Regions from separate parts of the Homo sapiens genome. Here all the other regions are linked to region 3. The links are contacts of gene promoters, found by promoter capture Hi-C in blood cells and fetal thymus (Javierre and others, 2016). All regions are on one chromosome and are shown on one strand. The core of a region is centred on a gene start or on the middle of the fragment in contact, and the rest is flanking DNA. Distances in the headings are between cores, read along the strand shown.

What was found. The method cuts DNA at HindIII sites, captures the fragments that hold promoters and counts their contacts. A CHiCAGO score of 5 or more calls a contact.
Region 1: the fragment with the promoter of TMEM245 here is called in contact with the fragment with the promoter of TMEM38B in region 3 in 1 of 17 cell types (total CD4 T cells); the score reaches 7.6 in total CD4 T cells.
Region 2: a contact is called between a fragment that was not itself captured here and the fragment with the promoter of TMEM38B in region 3, in 1 of 17 cell types (total CD4 T cells). The highest score is 6.3, in total CD4 T cells.
Region 4: a contact is called between a fragment that was not itself captured here and the fragment with the promoter of TMEM38B in region 3, in 1 of 17 cell types (naive CD8 T cells). The highest score is 5.8, in naive CD8 T cells.

Annotation. Positions count from the first base shown.
Region 1 is chr9:109,118,633-109,121,342 of GRCh38, reverse strand. TMEM245 (transmembrane protein 245) reads left to right here and starts at 1,396. Exons shown (of 18, transcript NM_032012.4): 1 at 1,396-2,008. The coding sequence starts at 1,430. RefSeq lists silencers at 1,247-1,296, 1,437-1,606, 1,957-2,066 and an enhancer at 1,717-1,766. The HindIII fragment of the contact is 5,277 bases long and covers 1-2,538 here.
Region 2 is chr9:101,560,038-101,562,737 of GRCh38, reverse strand. It overlaps RNF20 (ring finger protein 20), which reads right to left. Exons shown (of 20, transcript NM_019592.7): 17 at 1,812-1,937; 18 at 1,508-1,648; 19 at 727-828; 20 at 1-492. The coding sequence ends at 316. Among named protein-coding and RNA genes, the nearest start is that of RNF20, 28 kb to the right of the region's middle. The HindIII fragment of the contact is 1,418 bases long and covers 690-2,107 here.
Region 3 is chr9:105,693,229-105,695,954 of GRCh38, reverse strand. TMEM38B (transmembrane protein 38B) reads right to left here and starts at 1,414. Exons shown (of 6, transcript NM_018112.3): 1 at 1,183-1,414. The coding sequence starts at 1,294. RefSeq lists a silencer at 1,311-1,580. The HindIII fragment of the contact is 6,405 bases long and covers 1-2,726 here.
Region 4 is chr9:101,578,949-101,581,679 of GRCh38, reverse strand. It overlaps GRIN3A (glutamate ionotropic receptor NMDA type subunit 3A), which reads left to right. Exons shown (of 9, transcript NM_133445.3): 7 at 2,320-2,484. Among named protein-coding and RNA genes, the nearest start is that of PPP3R2, 15 kb to the left of the region's middle. The HindIII fragment of the contact is 3,086 bases long and covers 1-2,731 here.

The DNA.
Region 1 (2,710 bases), core at 147-2,646, 3.4 Mb before region 3:
ACTTTCTTTATACCAGACCTTGCTCTTGTTAATTGGAATCTGCAAGTGGTGAGCGACTAAACCTGCGTTTTGGTTATAAAACTCCAAAGGCCATCTGAAATACTGAGACCTAAAACTTACAATCGAGATGGATAGGGAATTACTTTTTCCTTTACTTCCTTTACTAAATCCCTTTGTCTCCAAATCTATCAAGCAATAGTTTCTTTATCTGCAAACTGTGGATTATGTTACCTGTCTTGTCTGCTTTAGAAGGGAAACAAAAATTATGTAGAAATTAATAGGAATACTATTGAAACAGGAAAGGGACAACTTGCAAGGTTTGAAGCAATCACATGTTGAGTACTCAGTCAAGGCTTTCTTTTTTTTTTTAAATCAAAATGTTGATTGGGATATTTTATGGGTAGCAGGCTTGGATCCCAGCACTTTTCCAATAGGGGAACAGAAGCACCTTGTACCGCCCCAGAGTTTCCCTTCCCCCACACAATAACCCTAAAGCAAAAGCTATTATTATTATCATCGCCATGTGACAGAGGAAAACTTGAGATTGGGGGCTTAACTGACATTACATCAAGTCTCAAAAAGAAACAGTGGCAGTTTGAGACTTTGATCTACGACTCTTTTAAGAGTTTAGATTGCGTCCACAGCGAAACCTGCACAAACAGTTGTCAACAGCGGCTGCAAATTACAGGCTTATGAGGAACGTTTGAAAAATGCCAAGAGTTCTTTCCTCAGGCCAAATACTATGGTAGATAAAAGTATAGCCTTTGGAGCCAGAATCCCTGAGTTTGAATCTTGCCTGTGCCACTTGGTAGCTGTGTGACTCTGGCTGCGTACTTAACGGCTCTGTCTCAGTTTTTCTGTTGGTAAAATGAGGATAATAACACCTTCTTTGTAGGGTTGTTCTAAGGATTAAATGAGTTAATAGGAGTGAGCCACTTAGAATAGGGCCTGTTATATGGTAATCTCTATTTAAAATCCTGTCAGATACACCAAAGAAAACACTTTAAAAATATCTGTTAAATAAATCAGTAAAACAGAATCGGGGCATTGGTTCTTTAAAAGTACTCCCCCACGGTATTCTAGTATGCAGCTTGGGTTTTAATATCTGAATGTGGCGCCTTTTGGGATCTCGCCTCGCGAGAAATTGACATTAACGAATGAGTGAAAGGAGCTTCCCCCCCCCCCCCCCTCCAGGAAGATATAGACCCTGCAAACTTGTTAGCAGGACCTTGCGGACACCAAGGAGGCGGAGGCGTTTTCCCCATTTCCCCTTCGGGAGTTGTAGTTTCCTGCAAGCGCTTGGTGGGTCTGTAAACCAGCGGGGAACTACAACTCCCACAATCTCGCGCGCCTCCCGCCCTGCCTCCCGCCCGCGTTTCTAGCCCGACTCCCATTACCGCCCCTCGGGGGCGGCTGTGGCGGAGGAACGATGGCCGACGGCGGCGGCCCTAAGGACGCGCCAAGCCTGCGGAGCTCTCCCGGGCCGGCGCCGCGGGTCCCGCGCGCGGTCGGGCCGAGTGGCGGTGGCGGGGAGACCCCGCGGACCGCGGCGCTGGCGCTGCGCTTCGACAAGCCCATTAAGCAGGCCTTCTACAACACCGGGGCCGTGCTGTTCGTGTGCCTGTGCTGCGGCGCCGCGGTGCTGGTCTACTTCATCCTGGAGGCCTTCCTGCGGCCGCTGCTCTGGGCCGTGCTATGCGGCACTTTTCTGCACCCCTTCAAGAGCTCGCTGACGCGCCTGGGCCGCCACTGGCTGCAGCGCCTGCACCGCGCGCACACGCCCATCGTCCTGGCCGCGCTGCTCCTGCCGCTCTGCTTCGTCGACTACGGCGTCGAGGCCCTGGGCGAGCAGGCGCTGCGCCGCCGCCGCCTGCTCCTGCTGCTCGGCGCCGGCGGCCCGCTCCTGTACGGCCTCTACTGCCTCGGCAGCTACTTGGGCGTGCAGGTGCTGCTGGTGCACGCTGCCACGCTCATCTGCCGCGGGCTGGACTACTTCAGCAGCCTGTGGGTGAGTGAGCGGCAGTCCGCCCCCGTCCCCCGCCCGTGGTCCCGGCGCTCTGGGGTGCAATCCTGCAGCTGTTCCTCCCGGTGCAGGGGCGACGAGGGGCCACACCTGTGCTGCAGTGACCGTCCGTCTCCGCTTTCCTTCTCACACCTCAGGAATTTGGCGGACATTCTTCCAAAAAGGGGGCGGGCGTGATTTGAAACAGCCTCCCTGCTTTTCGCCTTGTTTCAATCCTAATAGGCCCTCTTAGGGGGACAGTGCCCTGGATTGAGAATCGTTATTTCGCTTTGCAGAGAGAGGCCTCAGAGCATGGCAGTGGGGCTTGGTTTTACTTCTGGTTGGAGAGGGCGGGGGTGCTTCGGCCACCCTCAGTTCTGCGCATCTGAATGTCAGAGCTGGAAGGGACCTTAGAGATTCTAGGCCAACTTGCCATCCTGCAGATAGGAAAGGTGACCTCTTACCAGGCTAGGGCTACTTAGGGACAAAGAGGGGTTTGGGTGTCTTAGATTTCTTACAAGTCCTAAAACAAAGCTTGCTTCACTGGCTGGTGCTGCCTCTCAGTTCAGGTGATTCCTGTATAATTTGTGCAAGGCACTGGGTGCTGAGCTGCCTGTGCTTCTTCCTCTCCACGCTTTACTTTTAGGTAACTGCTTTTGTTGTGCAGGGACTGGTGTACCACAGCACACCTCCTCCCGCCTGGAGTAA
Region 2 (2,700 bases), core at 149-2,648, 4.1 Mb after region 3:
TCCAAGTTTATACAGTGGGCTGGAAAAAGAAAACACTGAAAAGTCTAAAAGCACAAAATAAACAAAGCTGGGAGGGAAGACAGTAAGAGTTATTTGTTTCTAATTCATTCTGAAACCCAAGGCTTGTATTTACCAGTCCTTTCTGCTAAAGTCATCCAGCTACTGAAGAGGAGAGCCTGGAAGTAAAGTCTGGAGGAAAGGTAGTTGACTGATAAACTGTCCTACAGGTGACAGTCAAGGAGAGAAGAGGTAGAGGTTTGGTGGTTAATGAATAAGTTCCTGACTAGCCAGCTCCTCTTCTTCTCTTGACTTAGATCAACCAATGTAGATGCGATGAAAATCATTGGCACCAAAAGCAGCATTACACTTGGGACATTTGCGCTGGCGGGTGTCATAGCGTGTCTTCACACACTCAAAGCAGAAGACATGAAAACACTTAGTAAGAACAGCATCCTTTTTACGCATGTTACAGCACGGACAGGTCAAGCGTGCCTAAAAAGAAAAGATGTCAGAGTTTGAACAACCATGAAAGTTTATGATCCAAATGGCTCTCATATACTACACAACCAAGAAGAAAACCCACAAGGCACTAAAAAAAGAGCATCATTTCCCCCCAACCTCCAAAATAAACCATTCTCTGGTTACTATCATGCAAATTATTCTCCCAGTCTATTAGGCCACTTAAAGCTTTGACAAAAAACTAATCACTAAGGCATTTTTTCTAACCTTGTAATCCTTAATCTCTTCCATCAGAATCTCATCACACTTGGGTACATTGTCTGGTTTCTTTGTGGTCTCCAGCTTCCTGCGAAGTCTAGAGATGTCCTCCTGTGGCAGGATAGCATACCCATTAGACACACTTACCCAAATCTATCATTTTTGAGAAAAATAATAGACTTGAGTTTTCTGTTGTGAAAAGAGGGGACTTTCTATCCTTTTATGGTCAATTATCTTGTAGAAATGTAGAGAACTGCAAATGGCAGGATATTTTCTTTTGTTTCAGAAGAGGCAACCATAATTATATCCCCAAATTAGAATTGCATCTATTACCAATTCAGTCCTGTGAAAACACATCTAAGAGTTTAGAGGACAGTCTATTTTGTTTTATAGTAATTAGTTTTAAGCTGAAGGTAGAACGGTTTAAAATAATTCAGAGACTTACGGATAAAGACAGAAAGACATCATGAGAAACAGCTAGCATGACAAAAATAGAGACATTATACAAGAACTTGAAAATCCTCTACTGCTGCTATGCTGTTACTTCTTTAACAATTTACTAATTCATTAATTTAACAAATATTTATTTTGTGCCTACTAGGTGCAAGGCACCATAAAAGAGTCTGAGGATATGGCAGTGAAGAAAACAGACTTACTCTCTTCCCTCAACAAACTTCCTCAAGTCTAGTAGGAAATGACATACATTGGACTAATGATTCTTTCATGATATGGGTCACTTCCGACCTCAGAAAACACCTAAAAGGTGACAAGAAAAGACAACTGCTTTTACCTGGGCTCGTTTGAAATTGAACATGTCCTTTTCTTTGGTAACACTGTTCTCCACGATCTCATCCTGAAAATCATGTAGCTTCTTCTGAGCCAACTCCAGTTGTGCTTTGAGGTCATCTGCAAGCTGGGCTGCCTCCATTGCCTATGTAGGATGTACAAATAAGTGACACCATTGTATCACCTATTATTGCCAGTGAGGCAAAATGTTAGCCCAAGTTGAAGGAATAAAGCGAACTTACAATCTCAACAGTGTTATACTTATTTGTTCCACTGAGACTAACCATCATTAGATTAATCAATCATACCTTGCGTTTATTCATCTCTAAGGCTTGGGTCCTAAGACCCAGCTCTTTCTCCCCTGTGCCAATGTTGCTCTGTAACAGATGCTCCTTCTCTTCCAGTTTCCTTACTACCTGTAGCTGGGCATCAACCTTTGAACAGAAAATCAGATTTTAACACAAATGAAAAGATTAAAAAAAGAAAAAAAACTATTCTGTTAATCTATAAGCCCACAAAATACAGTATGTTAGAAATCTCAAACTATTACTGATTTTGCCCATGAACCCTTCAAAATACATCAAGACTATGATAACTGAAAGCTTTACTTTTAATATAAAATATTGTGGAAGATTCAGTAAGAGTCTGAAAAATGACTGAAAAGATTCTTTTCCAAATTGCCAAAAATAGAGAATGCATGCTAATGCTTAAAACCTGGCAATTCATACTATAACATATAAATTAGAACTCAAACAAAAGTCCAAGAGTATTTCCTTCAGAATGGCTAGACATTCTAAAAGAGTCTTTTTTGAAATTAATGCACAAAGTAGAATCAAACAATATTAAAGTGTAAAAAGTAAAATCACAAACACCCACCTCCTAACCTCACCCACAACTCATCCCAATATGTAGAGGTAACCATTCTAACAGTTTCTCACACTGCCTTCAAAAAGCATATCAAAAAGATAGTCCACCATGATCAAGTGGGTCTCACACCAGGGATACAGGGATGGTTTGACATCCACAAGTCAATAAATCTGATACACCATATAAACAGAATTTTTAAAAAATCACATGATCATCTCAATAGATGCAGAAAAAGCATTTGACAAAATCCAGCATCCTTTTATGATTAAAACTCTAGCAAAATCAGCATAGAAGGGACATACCTTAAGGTAATAAAAGCCATCTATGACA
Region 3 (2,726 bases), core at 165-2,664:
ATTCTGAACATGTAGTAGCAACAAAACTTACTTTTTTCAAATCAAAGAAATAATATCTTATGCAGATAATGTGTTCTACTTTAATGCAGTAATACCATCCTCATCCAGGTCAAAATTTGTACCAACGATTTAAACTGAGCTACAAACTTCAACATAAATGAAAAATATTTCTGAGGTCTAAGGATTTTTTAAAACCAGTAAGTAGTCCATAAGAAAGATACAGCATCATCCTCCAGACCTCACTCATCAACTATCCGTAGGGCAAGGCAGATGAAAGACAGCAAGAACACAAAGAAAGTAGGCAAAGAAATGTCTGACCTCAAAGAAAGAAGAGGTCCATACAACTAAAAGCACAGTAGAATAACTACAAAAGTAAAGCAGTATTAGAGCAAACGCACCCTGGTGTAAAATCCAATAAAATACAACTACTGTCCCTTGATCGCATTGCTAAAAGAACTCAAAATGCTGTTTCAAGACTATATCCCCATTCTGCAGATAGTGAAACTACGCCAGGTAACTCTTGCTTGTACAGTGTCCGTCGTGACTGTGAAAAGGGGAACGCACTCGCTTCTCACATGCTAGGCAGGGTGTTAGGACACTGCGTGAAGGGGAATCCTGGTCTGGCTACAGGAGGCTTTTTGTTTCAGTGCTTGTACAACTTTCATAACTGGAGAGTAGTCCGCAACCATCTATTACTCCAAGAGACTGAGTCAGAAACCTGCTGTCTCCTCACATGACTTTCAAACACTGCGAGCGAGTGGCGACACTGCGAGCGAGTGGCGACACTGCGAGCGAGTGGCGGTACCGCGAGGAGGCCGCCCAAGCCCTGGGCTGGCGCGGATATCTGTGGTTCCGAAACGCTGCGGCAGCTTCTGTCAGTCCTGGGACTTCTGCGGGCGGTTGGCAAGGTCGGCCCTGCTCGCCCAGGCTACGGCCTCGCGGACCCCAGGTCACGCCTCCTTTGAGGAGTACTAGAGCCTCCGTCCTCCCCCACGCTGTTTCCCCATCTGCACTCAGTAAGTCAGACCAACCGGCCCTTGGCGCCCCTCCAACTCTACCATCGAACTGTCTGGGCTAGCGGCCACTCAGCCGCCCACCCGACCCACCCGACCCACCCGACTTAGACGGTCCTCGCCGTCAGGAGCACTCTGAGGGGTCCGGCCCGCGGCGCCCCGCACTCACCCGGCTGACGTTTCACCGCCATCACTGACACTAGATAGTGCGCGATGTCAAAAAAGGGAAACATGGACGTGCGGGAGAAGGCCAGAGCCAACTCGTCCCATGGAGAATCCATAACGACCACCGACCGCGGCAACCGAAGCAGCCGCGGCTACTGGTTCCCCGCGCTCGCGCGGTGAGGAGTAGGAGAGGGCACAGCCGCGGCCGCCCGCTCCTCCGCGCCGGCTCCAGCTCCGCGCGTGCGCCCTGGCGCCGAGGGGGCGGGGCCGCGCTTCGCGGGAGCCGCAGGCTCACCGGCGCTAGGCGGGTGGGCGGGGCGAGCGGGTTCCCCGCGGCTCCAGCCGGCTCTTGCCTCGGTTCTCCTAGTAAGGGTCCAGCGTCTTCTTGGTCCTGGGCGCAGTGCAGGACCTGGAGAGCGTGCAGATGAACAAAACACGGTCCTCAAGGGGAGACGCTCAGAGTTGGATTTATTTCTGTAAATTGATGTCATTCACCTAACATTTATCGAGCAACCACAGTGCAAGTCACACTGTGACTTACTGGAGATATAAAAATAAAACAATAATATCCTGACCTCAAGAACTATGCGTTCCCTGAAAGAGATTTTTTATAAAAAGAGAAAAAACGCACATAATGGTACAAAAGCAGGTACTGAGAAGTATAGCTGCCGTGCGAGAGCAGTTCGAAACGAAGATTACAATTCTGGGAAGTGAGTAAAGTGACATGTGAGCTGGACTTTAAAAGTTAAGTGAGAAACACAAGCTAGGTGGGAGATGGAGGGAGGTGTTTTGGGTTGACTACAAAGTGAGAAATGAGGTTGGGAAAAGTCCTCGAATGGCAGACAAAGCCAGGCAGTTTGGCTCCAGAGGTTAAATTCTTGATCAATCACTATGTTAAGCTCAGAGCCAGAATCTCTTCTCCTAATCTCTACGCTAACTGGGTTGTTTGGTGGAAGGTGAGGGAGTAGAGGTGCAACGAAGCAACAAGATTAAGAATAGATTGATGAGAAGCGACTGACAACGGAAAATCAGAGGGTATTCACTGGTCCAAGCAAAAGGTAGTGGAGGCTGTGGCAGCAGAAATTGAGACCAATTGTGGGAAACATGGGTAGAAGCAGAATATCGTCAGTGAGTGTCAGTCTGTACAGGCGGGAAAGGAAGCATTTGTCAAATAAAATGAGGAACGGGTGAGTAGGAGGATTGTGGTTGCATTCTGATAAATAGGAAACAAGAAGGAATAGGTTTGGGTAAGAAAAAAAACTAGCTTGGCACACTTATTTGATGTGTGAACAGATTATGCTGGCACCAGGAAATTGGAGAAACGTGATTAGCTGCTAGGTAGGTGACAGCTTCACGGGTGTATGCACTGCAAAAGGAGAATTTTTTTTATCTGAATATGTATTCATTAATTTTAATTCATTTAACAAAATGTTTTTTGCGTGCCTACTATGTAACCAGCATTTTGCTGGATGTCAGAAATACTGCCCTAAACACTAAGTGTTTAAAACGTAGGAAAATTGTAGTAAATCTCTACACTTCATTACTTAT
Region 4 (2,731 bases), core at 150-2,649, 4.1 Mb after region 3:
GAAGTGTATTCCCCACAGTTCTGGAGGCTGGAAGTTCAAGATCAAAGCACCACCAAGTTTATTGTCTTAGTAAGGGCCCAGTCTCTGCTTCCAAGATGGCATCTTGTTGCTTGTCCTCCACAGGGGACAAATGATGTGTCCTCCCATGGTGAAAGGCTGGAAGGGCAACAAAAGGGACTAGCTAGCTTCCTCAAGCCCTTTTATAAGGGCACTCATCCCTTCATAAGGGCTCTTAATACCAACCCTTGGAGTTTAGGTTTAAACATATGAGTTTGAGAGGGACATATACATTCAAACTATGGCACTATTCATGCCTTGTATACTTTTCCTTCAGCCACAGCAGTCAGTTTCACAACACTATACCACTGTCCAGGAAAGTCATGTCTTTTTTCCTTTGTTTATGCTACCCTCAGGTTAGTATGTTCACTTTCCCCACCCAACCTCCCCATCCTGCCTGTCTTATTCAAATGTTATCTCATGAACCAGCTTCCCCACAAATCCCAGGAAGCATGGATCAAATGTATCATGGAGGTATATGTTTGTTTTCTCCCTAGACTCAAGCTGTTTAAAAGGAAAGATATAACTTCCTTCTATCTCTATCCCATGATACGCAGAAGAGTGCCTGGCACCTAGTATTAACTCAATATATTATGTATTTTTACTTCTACGGGATTGACTCTTGTCATTGATGTCAATGGCTAAATAATGGCTGTTTTAGAGTACATGTGAGGGTTTTCTTAATCTACACAAATCACTTAGCAAAGTGCTGGCCACAGATATTTATTGTAACTACTATTGTTGCTATAACTGCTGCTGTTTTGGTATATAGCAGTAGAGCAGAAAGAGCCCAGGCTTTGGAGCTGAACAGAAATGGACTGAAAGACCAACTTTGCCACTTAAAAGTTGCAGTAACTCCACTTTCCTTAGTTATAAAATAGACGTTATATATCTATTTTAATGTAAAACACTTGGCAGAAAGTAAGCAACCAATAAATATCATTAAGTTCCTTCTCTTTCTCTTCTATGCCTTTTTTGTGGCTTGGCTCGGTTTACTACACTTCTCTGGTCTCACTTTCCTCCTCTGTAAATGAACTAGATGATTTCCATGTTCCCTACCAGATCCAAATTCCAAAGTTACTGAACTCACCATCTTTTTCCCCTTAAATCTACTCATTCTCTTCCCTGAGGGACGTTCTTTCCTTGACAGCTACCAGGTATATTAAATTGTTTCAATTCTCTATCTCTATCTCTCTCAATCTCTAAGAGACCATAAGGTGGTCCAGACCCAGGGCCTTGGCACAACTCCAGGGGCCATTTGCACAGTGGATTAACATACGAATAGCGCCTGTCAACTGAAGAATCATGAGCTTCATAAATTTGGCCAGGAGATCTTTAGTTCTCATAAAGGGTTGCAGCCAGCAGGCCAGCCATCCTGCAGAATGGGAAGCATAGCCTCAGCAGAAGCTGAGAGCAAGCACTTCAAGGGAGGGGTAAAAGGGAACAGGAATTTATGCTGAGTGGGGTGGCTGAGTATACGTATTGAGTAAGCTATAGGAGGAGTCATAAATATTTATGAAAAGAGATACATGCACATGTGCAGTTGAGCTTCATGCCTCTTCCTGGGCCCATGTTCAAAAAATGGTGGTGTTAGCATGACCCGAGGGTGGAGATTTTGGTCTTCTGATGTCCAAATGTGAAGCAGAGGACATGAAAACCCTCACTATGCATCCCCCACAAGTTGGCCAAAACCATCTGGAGATTGTGGTCATTTTTTAGGAAGGGTGCATTGGGAAACTGGTGAGCTGTCACACTGAAACTGCAAAGAGGGAGGGAGAATCTGGTTATGGCCTTAGATGATTAGCTAAAGGTGATAAAGCAATGAGTTATCGGTTTCTTGTTTTCCAGAGCTAGCTTTTGCTTACTTCTTAAGAATGAATTATGGCTAAAGGTTAATAAGGAAGGGACAACTGAGGCATGACAGACCTCCCATCCAATCAAGGCCAGGAACTCAGTTTTTAAGGTTTCTTCGGGGTCCCCATGGACAAGAGAAAGTTCGTTCAGTCGGTTGGAGAGCTTTTAATTTTATTTTTATTTCTCACCCTCTAGGCATTGGGTGCTCCTCGGCAGCCCTCAGTCCAACCCTGGCTGAATTTCTTTCATGATGTATAATGAAGGTCACAGAACACACAGGGAGAAATAGTCTCCAGCTGTCCTTGAGTCCAGAAAAAATGAATATCCATCTGAAAACCAAAGAGTACACAAGCATTGGGCCAGGTATATCATTGTATTCATGGCCTTTTCTTTCCTATTCTGTCACAGACTTTGCAAATGGGCATCAAACACTTCTCTGGGCTCTTTGTGCTGCTGTGCATTGGATTTGGTCTGTCCATTTTGACCACCATTGGTGAGCACATAGTATACAGGCTGCTGCTACCACGAATCAAAAACAAATCCAAGCTGCAATACTGGCTCCACACCAGCCAGGTGAGTGCCACAGGTGTCTTGCTCCAATATTCTTAAACTGTACAATTCCTAGGGATGGGAGGATCCAGAGCCCTATGTCAGACTACTAAGTTATGTTACCACAATAACGAGGGTGGGGTAGGCACTCTCATTAGAGCAGAAGGAATTCTCTCTATCCCATTAATTCACTTTTCCCTTAAATTAAGGCATCCCACAGTGCTCCTTCCTTTCCTATAACCCTCCACTGTTGTTCATAATAGAAGAAATA